Linked DNA regions of Homo sapiens: regions 2 and 3 are each linked to region 1. The links are contacts of gene promoters, found by promoter capture Hi-C in human tissues and cell types (Jung and others, 2019). All regions are on one chromosome and are shown on one strand. The core of a region is centred on a gene start or on the middle of the fragment in contact, and the rest is flanking DNA. Distances in the headings are between cores, read along the strand shown. Region 1 holds the start of ZNF761 (zinc finger protein 761). Region 2 holds the start of SIGLEC6 (sialic acid binding Ig like lectin 6). Region 3 holds the start of ZNF836 (zinc finger protein 836).

Evidence for each region. Contacts are between HindIII fragments. The study calls those that stand out against the background at their distance.
Region 2: the fragment with the promoter of SIGLEC6 here is called in contact with a fragment that was not itself captured in region 1 in 1 of the 25 tissues and cell types used here (hippocampus).
Region 3: the fragment with the promoter of ZNF836 here is called in contact with a fragment that was not itself captured in region 1 in 1 of the 25 tissues and cell types used here (hippocampus).

Annotation. Positions count from the first base shown.
Region 1 is chr19:53,429,334-53,433,831 of GRCh38, forward strand. The region is part of intron 9 of ZNF765-ZNF761 (ZNF765-ZNF761 readthrough); the gene reads left to right. ZNF761 (zinc finger protein 761) reads left to right here and starts at 2,651. Exons shown (of 5, transcript NM_001289951.2): 1 at 2,651-2,695. It also overlaps the pseudogene TPM3P9. RefSeq lists a silencer at 2,528-2,607. The HindIII fragment of the contact is 5,404 bases long and covers 547-4,498 here.
Region 2 is chr19:51,530,420-51,534,917 of GRCh38, forward strand. It overlaps SIGLEC6 (sialic acid binding Ig like lectin 6), which reads right to left and starts at 1,251. Exons shown (of 8, transcript NM_001245.7): 1 at 1,163-1,251; 2 at 741-1,100; 3 at 262-540; 4 at 18-65. The coding sequence starts at 1,229. The HindIII fragment of the contact is 9,007 bases long and covers 1-3,949 here.
Region 3 is chr19:52,169,174-52,173,671 of GRCh38, forward strand. It overlaps ZNF836 (zinc finger protein 836), which reads right to left and starts at 2,448. Exons shown (of 5, transcript NM_001102657.3): 1 at 2,163-2,448; 2 at 475-608. RefSeq lists an enhancer at 1,847-1,986 and a silencer at 2,567-2,616. The HindIII fragment of the contact is 5,540 bases long and covers 1-3,381 here.

The DNA of each region.
Region 1 (4,498 bases), core at 1,999-4,498:
GAGGGGAGAAACATTGGCATTAACAGGGAACTTGTTAAAGATGCCAATTTATAAATGCTACCTCAAACCTGCAGAATCAAACATTATTACAGTGGGTTGTGGAGTGCCAGATGACTTATATTCACCTTAAAGCTTGAGAGTCAGTGCTTAGCTAAGAGGCTCTCAGCCCAGGCTTCCAGTTGGATCAAATGGTCATATTCAGTTACTACCATCACCTGTGCCCTCCCCATAGCGTCTGTCTATTGGTGTCGGGGGAAACATCCATGCTGTTTCAATTAACTACCCTGCCCCCAGGTGATTCTAGGGTGAGGAGAAGTCCAGCATGAGGGCTTCCATATGCATTTGTGAAGGTTGATGGCAGACTGTTCCAAATGAGAATAATGGTTTCCGTGATATGATAAAAGCAATGCTATTGAATATGATGATGACTGATGAGAAGTTTTGCATAGCATTCGCTGTAAAAAAGCCACTTATAGGCTGGGCACGGTGGCTCACGCCTGTAATTCCAGCATTTTCGGAGGCTGAGGTGAGCAGATCACCGGAGGTCAAGAGTTCAAGACCAGCCTGGCTAACATGGTGAAACCCTGTCTCAACTAAAAATGCAAACATTAGCCAGATGTGGTGGTGGATGCCTGTAATCCCAGCTACTTGGGAGGCTGAGGCAGGAGAACTGCTTGAATCTGAGAGGTGTAGGTTGCAGTGAGCTGACATCATGCCTCTGCACTCCAGCCTGGGTGAGAGAGCAAGACTACGTCCAAAAAAAAAAAAAAAGAGAGAGAGAATTTTCCTGTAAATAATTAAAAAGACTAAGCAGCCCCAGAGATAAGACCTCCTGGGATCATTGTCCCTTTATATTGAGTGATAAAGTAACCTTCCTTGAAGTATATCAATCCATAACCAATCACCTTGCTGCACCCTATGTACTGGTCTTGAATGGAAAATGTGGTGATTCTTCTAAAGCTTCTCTGTCTTTCCGTGTGTGTGAAACCTAAGGGAACGCTGATCCCATTCATTTGGAGTTGATGTTTCCAGGTGGCTATCCTCATGCTTTGTGTTCAAATAAACTCTGTGCTTAATCATATATTCTAAATTTTATTATTTACTGCTGATATCAGTTTCTGTCAGACTGTAGGAGCCTCACCAGAGAGGGCACCTGTCGCTATGTTGTAAAACTCACACTTGTCAGAAAGACATGGGTTAGTGTTACTCCCCGTCCCTCAGAATGAAGCTAATTAGCTGACACAGATGGTCACCTCCATTACCAAGTAGAGTCAGGATGAACTATGTGTGACCAAGAGTGTTGTCAAGTCCTCTTCCCTGAGGACTGATTAGCGTTTATCTTGAAAACATGTCCTTAATGGGTTGTATAGAACAGTAAAGTTTCTTTCTCTTTTTTCAACCTCTTAGCTGTTTGCCTGTATTTCGCATCACAATCTGGTCTAAGGCTTATTTATTAATGAAATGGTTTTAATTTCTTTCTCTATGATCATCGTGGAGATGATTTCTCATTTGGAGAAAGACTTTTTGTTTGTTTTCAATTATATTTTCTCAACAATTAGACAGTGAAGTAAAAAGTATTTTGGGGGGGCCAGGCACAGTGGCTCACGCCTGTAATCCCAGTACTTTGGGAGGCCGAGGCAGGTGGATCACTTGAAGTCAGGAGGTTGAGACCAGCTGGCCAACATGGGGAACCCACCTACAAAAATACAAAAATTAGCCGGGCATGGTGGCACGCGCCTGTAATGGCAGGTACTCCGGAGGCTGAGGCAGGGGAATCGCTTGAACCCAGGAGGCAGAGGCTGCAGTGAGCCCAGTTCCTGCCACTGCACTCCAGCCTGGGCGACAGAGAAATGCTCTGTCTCAAAATAAAAGAAAAGAAATAAGTAAATAAATAAAAGAAAGTAATAGATCTCTTCTACAAATGTGCTGGGACAACTAACTGGATATCCACATGGAAAAGAATAATGTATCCCTATCTCACACAATCAAAATTTTATTTTAACGTTAAAAAATGGAGAAAAAAAGAGAGAGAGACGAGGGAGGGAGTCCTGAGGGAGGGGTGTTACTTTGTCGCCCAGGCTGGCCTGGACCCCCAGGCTCAGCGATCCTCTCGCCGCTGCTTCCTGAGTAGCTGGGAACTCAGGCTCCCGCCCCCGCGCCTGAATCCTTGCTGTGTTTATCCAGCAGGTCGCCCCTGGCTGGCCTGAGCATTCCGTCCCGCATCCCAGGGGGAGGCCCTAGGGAAGTCTCTGCAGCTGAGCACGGGGTGGACTCTCCCTCCTGAGTGAGTGGAGAATAGAAAGGGAGAGGATTTCTGTTCTGTTCTGTGGGCCGTCAGCATGAAATCGTACGTTCCGCCCAGGCAGGGCCTTGCATTTTACATTCTAGTTTGTATCCCGTTCCAGACAATTCCAGGGCTTTTGAGTCCATGCGTCAGCCTTCCTGGGCGGTCTCACCTTCACCACCCGAAAACAGGTGCTAGGAGAGAAGCTGAGAGGAGCACCGGTCACGCCCCGGCCCCGCCCTCTGCCGGCTCTAAAGCGCAAGGTCTCTCCGCCTCGCGCCCCGCCCCTGCCTCGTCCAGGCCCCGCCCACCTCCTTGCGGGTCCCGCCCAGGCCTGGCTTCTGCTCTGCGCGCGCAGATTCGTGCAGACCAGGAAGCGGATAGCGTGGAGTGACGGTGCCACCGCGGCGCGTGAGTTTCGCCCTGTCTTGTATTAAGTCTGCTCTTCCAGGTTCCTGGCGCTTCTGTACCTGGGACTTGGGATCCCCACAAACCTGGAAATTCTCAGCCGTCTTCCTTCACTCAGAGCAAATTGAGACGACCTCGTGAGAGGCCGTGGGTCGGTTCCTTTTGGGTTTAAGGTCCCCCTGAGGCTGGTCCCGTCCCGGGTGTTTCTGCTACAGGGCAATGTATACACTTTCTAACCTGTAGTTTTCCTGCTGTAAACCTTTTTCTGACTCCTCCCGCCCCGCGCTTTTTAAAGTCCTCACCTGAGAGGTGGATTCTCGCCTTTGTCGGCCCCTGGAGCCCAGCGCCGCTGCCCCAGTCCCGGAAAGGCCGCGTCCTCTGCCTGGTCCTAGGATCCTGCAGACCCCACCCTTGCCTTAAGGTGCTGTCGCCCCTTCACCTCCCTCCTTGTGCCGGGCCCTGCTGCTCCACGGGTTTCGCCTCCACAATCACCGCTTCCCCTGAGCCCGCGTTGGGGAGGTGCCCGGGGCCTGTCCTGTGACGCGGGGTGTTACTGCCTGCCCAGCTCCAGCCCCTGGAAAATGCGCTCCCCCGGGATGCAGGCGTCTTACTCCAAACCCTCCTGTGACTGTGTGGGCCAAAGGGATCAGGAGACGGACAGAGAGCAGTGGAAAACCTGAGACAGAAAAGAAGAATGAGAAAGACCTATAACAGATGGCAAAGTAGAGGATGGGTGAGGGATTTGCCAAGAGACAGCAAAAGTGAAAAGAAAACGATAAGAAAGCAGGAGGAGAAAAGCAAGTGCAGAAATGTAGAGAAAAGCTGGATGTACAGAGAGATGAAGGACAGCAAGGTAGGGAGAGGGACAGCAAAGAGGGAGGCTCATCAGGGTGAGGGAGAGGAGGAGGGATTTGGAGCCAGGGCAGACAGAGCAGAGTGGTGCTGGTGGCAAGGAGAACAGAGGGAGAAGCACAGCAGGGAGGACACCTGGGGATCTGGGGTGCTAGAGAGTGGGGACAGGGGGGTATAACAGGGAAGAGAGAATTTAACGGGGAGAGCAAAGGAGGCGCAGAGATGGTGTTGCGGGAAACTGAGGACTAGACAGACTGATATGGGGGAGACAAAAGGATGTTTATTTAAGATACGCACCGGCTCAGTGGATTTACATCTAAAAAGCTGAGCATTTCAACAAAGACGGAGTGGGGTTTTTTGCTTTCAGAAGCAGAATAAAAGCAGTTAATCATATAATGATAGGTCATGTAATCTATAGCATAGCATAACTTGTGTCCTTCCATAGCTGGTGGCCTCGTAGCTGAGTTGAAAGAAAAACAAGAACAGCTAAATACACACATTTGTCCTTTTTTTTTTTTTCTTCACTCTTGTTCTGGGAAGGTGGGGGGCTGTCTGGAGCCCATTTCTTTGGCTTCGACTTCGCCAAGTCGAGCTTGCTAGGCAGAGGAAAACTTGTTCTTCTTTTCTTTTTAACCCTTGCCTTGCCTGTTACTTTTCTTGGAGTGAATGAATGCATGTTTGTTTTTTAACTTTCTGCCTCAGTTTTCTCCCTTAGATGCCTTTTATGAACAAGATTTTACTAGAAGACATCACTATTACTGGATTCTTCATGAAAGAGCACTGGCTGATATTTATATCGGGCTATTAGCTGAGTGGTAGTCTGCCTGGTCGCAATTGCTTCTATAGTTGATTGAATGCTCTTAACACGGAGAGGTAAGAGGTAAGGGAGTATCAAACCAATTCTTAGTATGGCTAGAACTACTCCTATTAAGGTTTTGAATCTACTGAAGGAGG
Region 2 (4,498 bases), core at 1-2,500, 1.9 Mb before region 1:
GACTGGCTGGTTCCTACCTGCGCTGTTTCCTTGGAAGATGCTGATGGCCACTTTCTGTGGAGCATCTGGGGTGGAAAGAGGTGGCCGCCTCAACATCCCTGAGGAGGGATGGTAGGCATGGGGCCTTCCCCTCAGGAGCCATGAAAACAGGGAAAGGGGCTCTCCTCTTTGGCAACCAGGTCCCCAACTTTAAGCTCTGGCTCAGCCCTGCCCTGTCCCCCCACACCCTCAGGGACCCGGGCGTCCTGGCCCAGCACTCACAGGAGACATTGAGCTGGATGGTTCTCTCCATGGTCACACCGGCTCCAGGGAACGTCACCTGACAGGTGAGGTTGGTGCTGTGGTCCTGGGGCCGTGGGGTGATTGTGAGCACCGAGGACTGGGTGGTCCTGGGGCCCAGGGAGGTGGGGGCAGCTGACATCCAGGAGAAGATGGGGGGCGTCCCCTGCTCACAGACCCAGGGCACAGAGCAGGTCAGATTGCTGGGATGGCCAGACTCCAGGGTCCCTGGGATGGAGATGTTGGGCCTGTGGGTCAGGGCTGGTGAGGAGATGGGGACGCAGGATCAGGATGGAGGTCTGAGGTTTCACCCAGGGGGAAGCCCAGTCTCTGGTCCAGCTCCTTCTCTGAGCCCAACATGCTTAATTGTACCCGCCTCCCAAGACGGGGCTCCCGTCCCAGCCCTGCCCTACGGCCCCCATGACCTTCCCCTGTGGCTAGTCCTGGAGCTGGTTCCTTACCCATCACACGCACAGAGAGCTTGGAAGATGTATAACCGTATTTCATCCATTTGGACTTCAACCGAAAGAAGTATGCAGCATTGTCCCTCCTCCGGGCATCTCTGATGCTCAGGGAGCAGTTCTTCCTTCTGGGATCCCAGAGGAGGTGGAATCGGCCCCGGGTCTCCTCCTGCACTTCTTCGTCTGGGTCGTTTGTGGCCACTGGAACATCAGCCCCTTCCAGGAACCAGTAGCCATAACCATAGTACGAGGCTGGAAGGGTAGTGGGCAATCTGCAGGGTACGAGGACGCACAGACCCTCCTGCACCGTCAGTGACTCTGGCCCCTCCAGCTGGAATCTCCGCTCCTGAGCCAGGGCCCCTATGGAGACATGAGGGTCAGCTCGGCCCAGCCCCACGGCACCTCTCCCCTGGCCCACTCACCTGCCCACAGCAGGGGCAGCAGCAGCGGTAGCATCTCTGAGGCGGAGGCTTCCTGGGCTCCCTGCATGAGCAGAGAAGGGGAAGGGAGTGGAGGGGAAGGACTGCGGGGAGGAACGGGTGGCTGGGGAGGAGCGCGTGATCTCGGCTGTTCACAGAAGAGGAACTGCGAAGCCACAAGCCCTCGGAGCTCCACTCCCTCTGCACAGAGCAGACGGAAACTTTGAGACCCAGAGACCTGCCCAAAGAAGAGCAGAGGAGAAGAGACTGTGTCCCGCCTCCCACCTCGGGGCTTCCTGTGAGCAACAGAGCCCGGACCAGGGCCTCCCGGGGCATCTGAGGAATGCGAAACCTGTGTCCAAGGCCCTGCCCACCTGAGGTGCTTTTCTGTGCACCACTGTTTACACCTGGGAGCTGGTCACTCCTGGCCCCAGAGAGTCACAGCCTCATCCCACGCCATGAGAAAGTCAGTCCTGCAGGATATAGGATTCTGTAGGGTCTGTGGGAGTGTCTGGGACAGTGAAAGGAAGAAGGGTCCCAGGTGCAGTGTGGGTGATAGCCACTCATTCATTCACTCATTCATTCATTCATTCATTCATTCACCAAAGACATAGTGAGCATCTGTATGTAGGTCGGGCTGGAGAAGAGATGCCAGGGACCTGGTCCCTACCCTTGAGATGATCCCCATCCATAGCTTCCCATCCTCAGCACACACCCTCACTATCTAGCTTTAGAGCTGTGGACACTGGTGAGTTTGCCAAGTGACACAGTAGAATGCCAGATATTTTTTAAAACATGAGTATGGAGGTTTTTCCTTGACAGCTAGTACGCTGATTTACAAAATTTCAATGACATCTCCAAAATAAGAACCATGCAACATCTTCATGTAAATCAAAAAGGACACATATTTTATGAACTGCAGTGCAGAAGAAACTTCTTTTGAATTAATGTTGCCACTCAGTGCAGTGTGGACTGGAGAGATTTTTTTTTAGGTCCTCATCATAGAGATTAGCAATTTCTTTCCTGTGAAAAATCTGCTTCTCACAGTTAAATGTGGCACAAAAGACATATTTCTGGACAACGTGAGCAGAATATCCTGACAAAATTAAAATTTTTAGGTCTAGCTCACATGGTTTTCTATTTTCCTCTGTGCAGTATGCATCTGGCAAATCTCTAATACCTATGAGGTATTAGAATTTGCCACCATATATTTGTAAATTTTTTTATTTCTACAAACTTAAGGAGTAGATGTAAAATTTTTTTGCATGTATATAATGCGTAATGATTATGTCAGGATATTTAGAGTGTCCGTCACGTGAGTGCAATACATTCTTGTTAACTAAAATCACACTATTCTGCTCTCTAACGCTGAATTTATTCCTTTTAACTGTATGTTTGTAGCACTTCACTCACTTCTCTTCATCTTCTGTCCTCCCCCATCTGACCCTTTCCAGTCTCTGTTGTCTATCTTTCTACTGTCCACCTCCATGTGATAATATTTTTTTAGCTCCCACATGTAAGTGAGAACATGCAACATTTGTCTTTTTGTGTCTGACTTATTTCAATTTAGATAATGAATTCTAGTCCCATCCATGTTGCTGCAAATGACACGATTTCATTCTTTTTTATGGCCAAATAGCATGTATACTATATTTTCTTTATCCATTCATCTGTTAATTGACACTTAGGTTGGTTCCATATCTCTGATATTGTGAATAGTGCAGCAAAAATCATGTGAATGCAGGTATCTCTTTGATGTATTTCTTTCTTTCCCTTCGGGTAGATACCCAGTAGTGGGATTGCTTGAGTGATCGAATAGTAATTCTATTTTTAGTTCCTGAGAAATGTCCATAGTGTTTTCAAAAGTGGCTGTACTAGTTTAAATTCCCACCAACAGTACAGAAGAGTTATCTTTCTCCTCATCCTTGCCAAAATCTGTTATTTTTTGTTTTTTTAGTAATAGTCATTCTGACTGGGTAAGACGGTATCTCATTTTGGTTTAGATGTGCACTTCTCTGATGATTAGTGACGCTGACCATTTTGTCGTATTGGCTGTTCTTATGTATTCTTTGAGAACTGTCTATTCCTGTCCTTTGCCCACTTTTTACTTGGATTATTTGCTTTTTCCTGTTGAGTTGTTTGAGTTCCTTGTATAGTCTGGATATTAGTCTCCTGTCAGAAGAATAGTTTGCGAATATTTTCTCCAATTCAACAGGTTGTTTCTTCACTCTAATTATTTCTTTTCCTGGCAGAAGCTTTTTGTTTATTAAGTCCCATTTGTTTATTTTTGTTTTTGTTGCCTGTGCTTTTCAGAACTTAGTCATAATTTCTGACTCTTCTGACCAATGTTCAAAAGAGTTTTCCCTAGGTTTTCTTGTAGCTGTTTTTTTTTTTTATAGTTTTGGGTCTTACATTTAAGTGTATGATTCATTTTGAGTTTTTTTTTAATATGGTGAGAGAGAAGAATCCAGTTTCATTCTTTTGTGTGTGGGTATACAATTTTCCCAGCACCATTTATTGAAGAAGGTGTCCTTTCCTCAATATAAGTTCTTGTCAGTTTTGTTGACAATCAATTGGCTGTATACATGTGGCCTTATTTCTGGGTTATATTCCATTGGTCTATGTATCTATTTCTATACCAATATCATGCTGTTTTGGTTATTATAGCCTTGTAATATACTTTGAAGTCAGGTAAAGTGATACCACCAGCTTTGTTCTTTTTTCTCCGGATAGCTTTGGCTATTCAGGTTCTTTTTGGATCCATATGAATTTTATAATTGTTTTTTACAATTCTGTGAAGACTGACATTGGTATTTTCATATGGATTACATTAAATCTTTAGATTGCTATAGACCAGTGTGGGCTTCTTAACTATCTTAATTCTTCCAGTCATGAGTATGGGATGTTTTTCCATTTGTTTGTGTCATCTTCAATTTCTTTCATCAGTGTTTTTTAGTTTTTCCTGTATAGATTTTCACCTGGTAGGTCATTAAGAGCATATTGTTTAATTTCCATACATTTGTCTTGTTTCCAGAGTTCCTCTTGGTGCTGACTTGTTGTTTTGTTCCATTGTGGTCTGAGTATACATTGAGTAAATATTGATTTTTTTTTTAATTTATAGAGACTTATTTCGTAGCCGAATATATGGTGTATCCTGGAGAATGTTTCATGTACTGATGAAAAGAATATGTATTCTGCAGTTGTTGGGTAGAAGTTCTGTAAAAGTCTGTTAGTTCCATTTGGTCTATAGTGTAGTTTAAATGTGATGTTTGTTTGTTGATTTTCTGTCTAAGTGATCTGTCTTACTGAGAATAGGGTGGTGAAGCTTCCCACCATTAT
Region 3 (4,498 bases), core at 1,198-3,697, 1.3 Mb before region 1:
TGCCACCAAATCTTATTTCAGAAGTCAGTAATTATTTATAGAAAGGCAGATATTGAATAAACTAACACTTATCTCAAGCTTCCAAAATAACGATGAATTAAGTGGAACTACAAAGAAAAAAGTAGGCCAGGCGCAGTAGCTCACACCTGTAATCCCAGTACTTTAGGAGGCCGAGGCCGGCAGATCACCTGAGGTTGGGAGTTCAAGACCAGCCTGACCAACATGGAGAAACTCTGTCTCTACTAAAAATACAAAATCAGCCAGGCGTGGTGGCACATGCCTGTAATCCCAGGTACTCGTGAGGCTGAGGCAAGAGAATCACTTGAACCTGGGAGGCGGAGATTGCAGTGAGCCGAGATGGCACCATTGCACTCCAGCCTGGGCAACATGAGCGAAACTCCGTCCCAAAAAAAGAAAAAAGCAAATCCATTACCAAAAAAAAATAAGACTCTGAATACTCATACAAAGATATACCTCGTAGGCCTGGCGTGGTGGCTCCCGTCTGTAATCCCAGCACTCTGAGGCAGAAAGACTGCTTGAGCCCAGGAGGTTGAGGCTGCAGTGAGCGGAGATCATGGCACTGTACTCTAGTCTGACAGAGCAAGACCCTGTCTCAAAAAAGAAAAAAAAAAAAAAAAGACATACCTTGTAGTGACAGTGACAGTCATTTATCGCCCCATTTCTCAGTTACTCTATCCTCTACCCCATCCCAGGGAAGAAAAGAGTTACCACGAATGACTTAATTTAAATGCTCTCTGGCTAAACAGAAATTCCAAATATCTTTTGATACAAATAAATACAAAATGCACAAGCCTTACAGAAAAGAGTGGTAATTTTCATCCTCACGAGTACAATTTAAAGAAATGAATTTTAAATTAGAGTATAAAGTCACAAATTAGAATATTACAACCACCATCCATATCCAATCAACTCATCGCTCATCTGGATGGGGTCCTCTCCCACTTTCTTCACTATTGTGTGTGTCCCTCTCTCATTCTGCACCTTTCCTCCCCTTTTCTGTTTTTCTCCTCTTTATGTCTGTTCTGCCCGATGCTCTGCAACTTACTTCACCTCTCGTAGCTCTTTCTCCCCAATCTTTCTGATTGTCCCCAATCTCCACGTATTTCCGCCTCTTTTTCCCCATCTGAGCTCCCTCTCTGCTCTCCTTGTTAAAATTCCCTCTTACCTGTTACACCTCCTTTGTTCCCACTCTCTAGCACCCCCAACTCCCTAGGCTTCCTCCCTGCTGTGGTTCTCCCTCTACTCTGCTTGTCACCCACTGCCCTCTCTCCCTCTCTTTCAGTCCCAGCACCACGTAGCTCTGTCGGCTGCGGCTCCAACTCTTTCACCTTCTCCCCACTGTCTGTCTGCAGTGCCTCCTCCTTTGCCGCCCCACTCTATTTTGCTGCCTTTCATCTCTCTGAAGGTCCCCCTTTTTTTCTAAATTTCTCTGTGTGCTTTCCTCCCCCTGCTTCTTTCTCCATTCGTTCTCTTTCACTCTTGCTGTCTCTTTGCAAATCCCTAAATTATCATCCATTTTGCCGTGTATTTATGGGTCTCCCTCATTCTCTTCTATTCGGTCTTTCCTTTTGCTCCGTCGCTCCCCTTCTTTTCCTCTCCTGATCCCTCTCACCCACACATTCAGTAAGAAAGGGGAGGAATAGGATGCCCACCTCCCGGAAAAGCATATTTTCCAGTGGAGTAAAATTTGGGAAGGAAGAACACTGGGTGTCACAAGACTCAGGTGACCTCCCCCAAGGGGGGGATCGAGAAAAGCAGTGGCTGTGAAGGGGAAGCCTGGGGAGCGAAAGGACCCGGCGTGAGGAGGACACAAGGTGGCAGGGGGTACGGTGTCTCAGGACAGGGAGGGTCTGCAGAATCCCAGGACCTGGGAGGAGAAGCGACTCCTTCAGGAGCCGGACGGCGGGCGCTCCCCTCCAGGGGCTGACGACGGAGAAGCTCCGGGGTCGCAACGGGCGGGAATCCACCTCCCGAGTGAGGACTCGACTTGGCGCAGGGCCGAAGCAGAGGTCAGTAAGGGTTTTAAGCAGGAACACGACCTGAGTGGGGTTGTCTACATGGTCCTAAGGCAGAAAGGCAGGGAGCAAGGAACAGCCTCAGAGAGATTTTTAAACCGAAAGGGAAGCAATTATCAGACTTACTTGGGGCGAAGGGGCTGTTGCTGGTATTTTAAGGTCCGTAGCGATCCCCAGGAAACGGGTATGGACAAGGGAAGACTGCCAAGTGCACGTTCGATTCAGGCAGACGGGGCGAAGCAAATGTTTAGTCCAGGTAGACGGAAACTGACGCGCAGCGCTGTGATCTTTTCCCCGCGCGATCTGCTTCCGGGTGTGCAGGAAGCTACACGCCCTGAGAAAAAAGACTGAGAGACCTGGGGCGGGAGAGGGGCCTGGGCGGGGTGCGACCCGCAAGGGAAAGGGCAGAAAGACTGGCCAGATTTGGGAACCCTGAAAGGGTGGGGCAAGGCTGATGCGGTAGTGGGCGGGGCCAGGTGGGCTAAGCGGGACGGGCGGTGTGGGCGGGACCTGTTTGGTGGGCGGGGCCTGTTATTCGCTCTGCCTTCCACCCAGCAAGTCTTTGTTCTCCCGATTTAGGAGTATTTGTGACTATTTCTTGTCCTGTGAAGCAGCGTTGCTTCCTGCCTATTTTAAGTTAATGTTTTAGACTTTAAGGTCAAAGCTTAAAGTTGTGGTCCACTTCTGTTGGAAACTAAGATGTTTTCTTCTTGTCAAGTTGAACTGATTTAAGTCAAAATCGATTTTTGCGAGCCTGGTGGACTCCATCGGGTCTTGCCAGTGAGGCTGAAGCCAGTTAAGGCTGAAGTTACTCAGTAGTCAGGGAACTAGGATCTCCGTGAAGATCTGATGTGCAGCCGTGGCTGGATCCAGGAACCCTGAAGACATTATGCTAAGCGAAATGTGCTAGACACAGAAAGACAAATCCTGCATGTGCTTACTTACATGTGCAATCTACAAACATCAAAATTACAGTAACAGAGTAGAAGGGTGGTTTCCAGGGCTGACGGTCTATCCTGTGCCTGTCCCACCATTGTATTTTGGAAGCAAATAGCTTCTTTGGCTTCACAGTTTCACAGCTGGACAGAAATTTTGCCTCAGGATGAACCACACTTTGAGTCTCACCCATATGTGATTCAGATAATATTTGGGTAATATTTGGGCCTTAGAGTTTGATACTGAAATGGATTAAGACTTTTGAAATGGGCCAGGAGCAGTGGCTCTGGCCTGTAATCCCAGCTCTTTGGGAGGCCAAGGTGGAAGGATTGCTTGAGCTCAAGAATTCAAGACCAACCTGGGGCAACATAGTAAGACCCTTGTCTCTACAAAAAATACAAAAATTAGCCAGGCATGGTGGCTCACGCCTATAGTCACAGCTATTTGGGAGGCTGAGGTGGGAGGATCTCTTGAGCCCAGGGGATCAAGGCTGCAATGAGTTGTCTTTGCACCACTGAACTGCTGCCAGGGCAACAGAGTGAGACTCTGTCTCAAAAAATAATAATAATAAGACTTTTGAGATGTTAGGATGGGGGTGAAGGGATCTTGCATGTGAGAAGGACATGAATTTTGGGAGTCCAGAGTACAGAATGTTATGAGCTGAATCACGTCCCTAAAAAATCATTGTTGGCCAAGCGCGGTGGCTCATGCCTATAATCCCAGCACTTTGGGAGGCCGCGGCGGGCGGATCACAAGGTCATGAGATCGAGACCATCCTGGTTAACACGGTGAAACCCTGTCTCTACTAAAAATGCAAAAAATTAGCCGGGCGTGGTGGCGGGTGCGTGTGGTCCCAGCTGCTCCGGAGGCAGAGGCAGGAGAATGGCGTGAACCCAGGAGGCGGAGCTTGCAGTGAGCCGAGATCCAGCCACTGCACTCCAGCCTGGGCGGCAAAGCGAGACTCTGTCTCAAAAAATAAATAAATAAATAAAATAAAATAAATCATTGTCTTTAAGTTCTAACACCCAGTACCTCAGAATATGACTGTATTTTGAAATAGGGCATTTAGAGGCTATTAAGTTAAACTAAGCTTGTTAGAATGGGCTCTGATGCAATCTGACTGATGTTTTGATAAGAGGAAATTTGGCTGGAAGCAGTGCTTCATGCCTGTAATCCCAGCACTTTGGGAGGTCAAGGTGGATGGATCACTTGAGCTCAGAAGTTTGAGACCAGCCTGGCCAACATGGTGAAACCCCATCTCTACTGAAAATACAAAAATTAGCCAGGTGTGGTGGCGCATGCCTTTAGTGCCAGCTACTCGGGAGGCTGAGGCAGGAGAATTGCTTGAATCTGGGAGGCAGAGCTTGCAGTGAGCCGAGATCGCGCCACTGCACTCCAGCCTGGGTGACAGGGTGAGACTCTGTCTCTTAAAAAAAAAAAAAGAAAAATTAGCCGGGTGTGGTGTCACGCACCTGTAATCTCAGCTACTTGGGAGGCTGAGGCAGGAGAATCGCTTGAACCCGGGA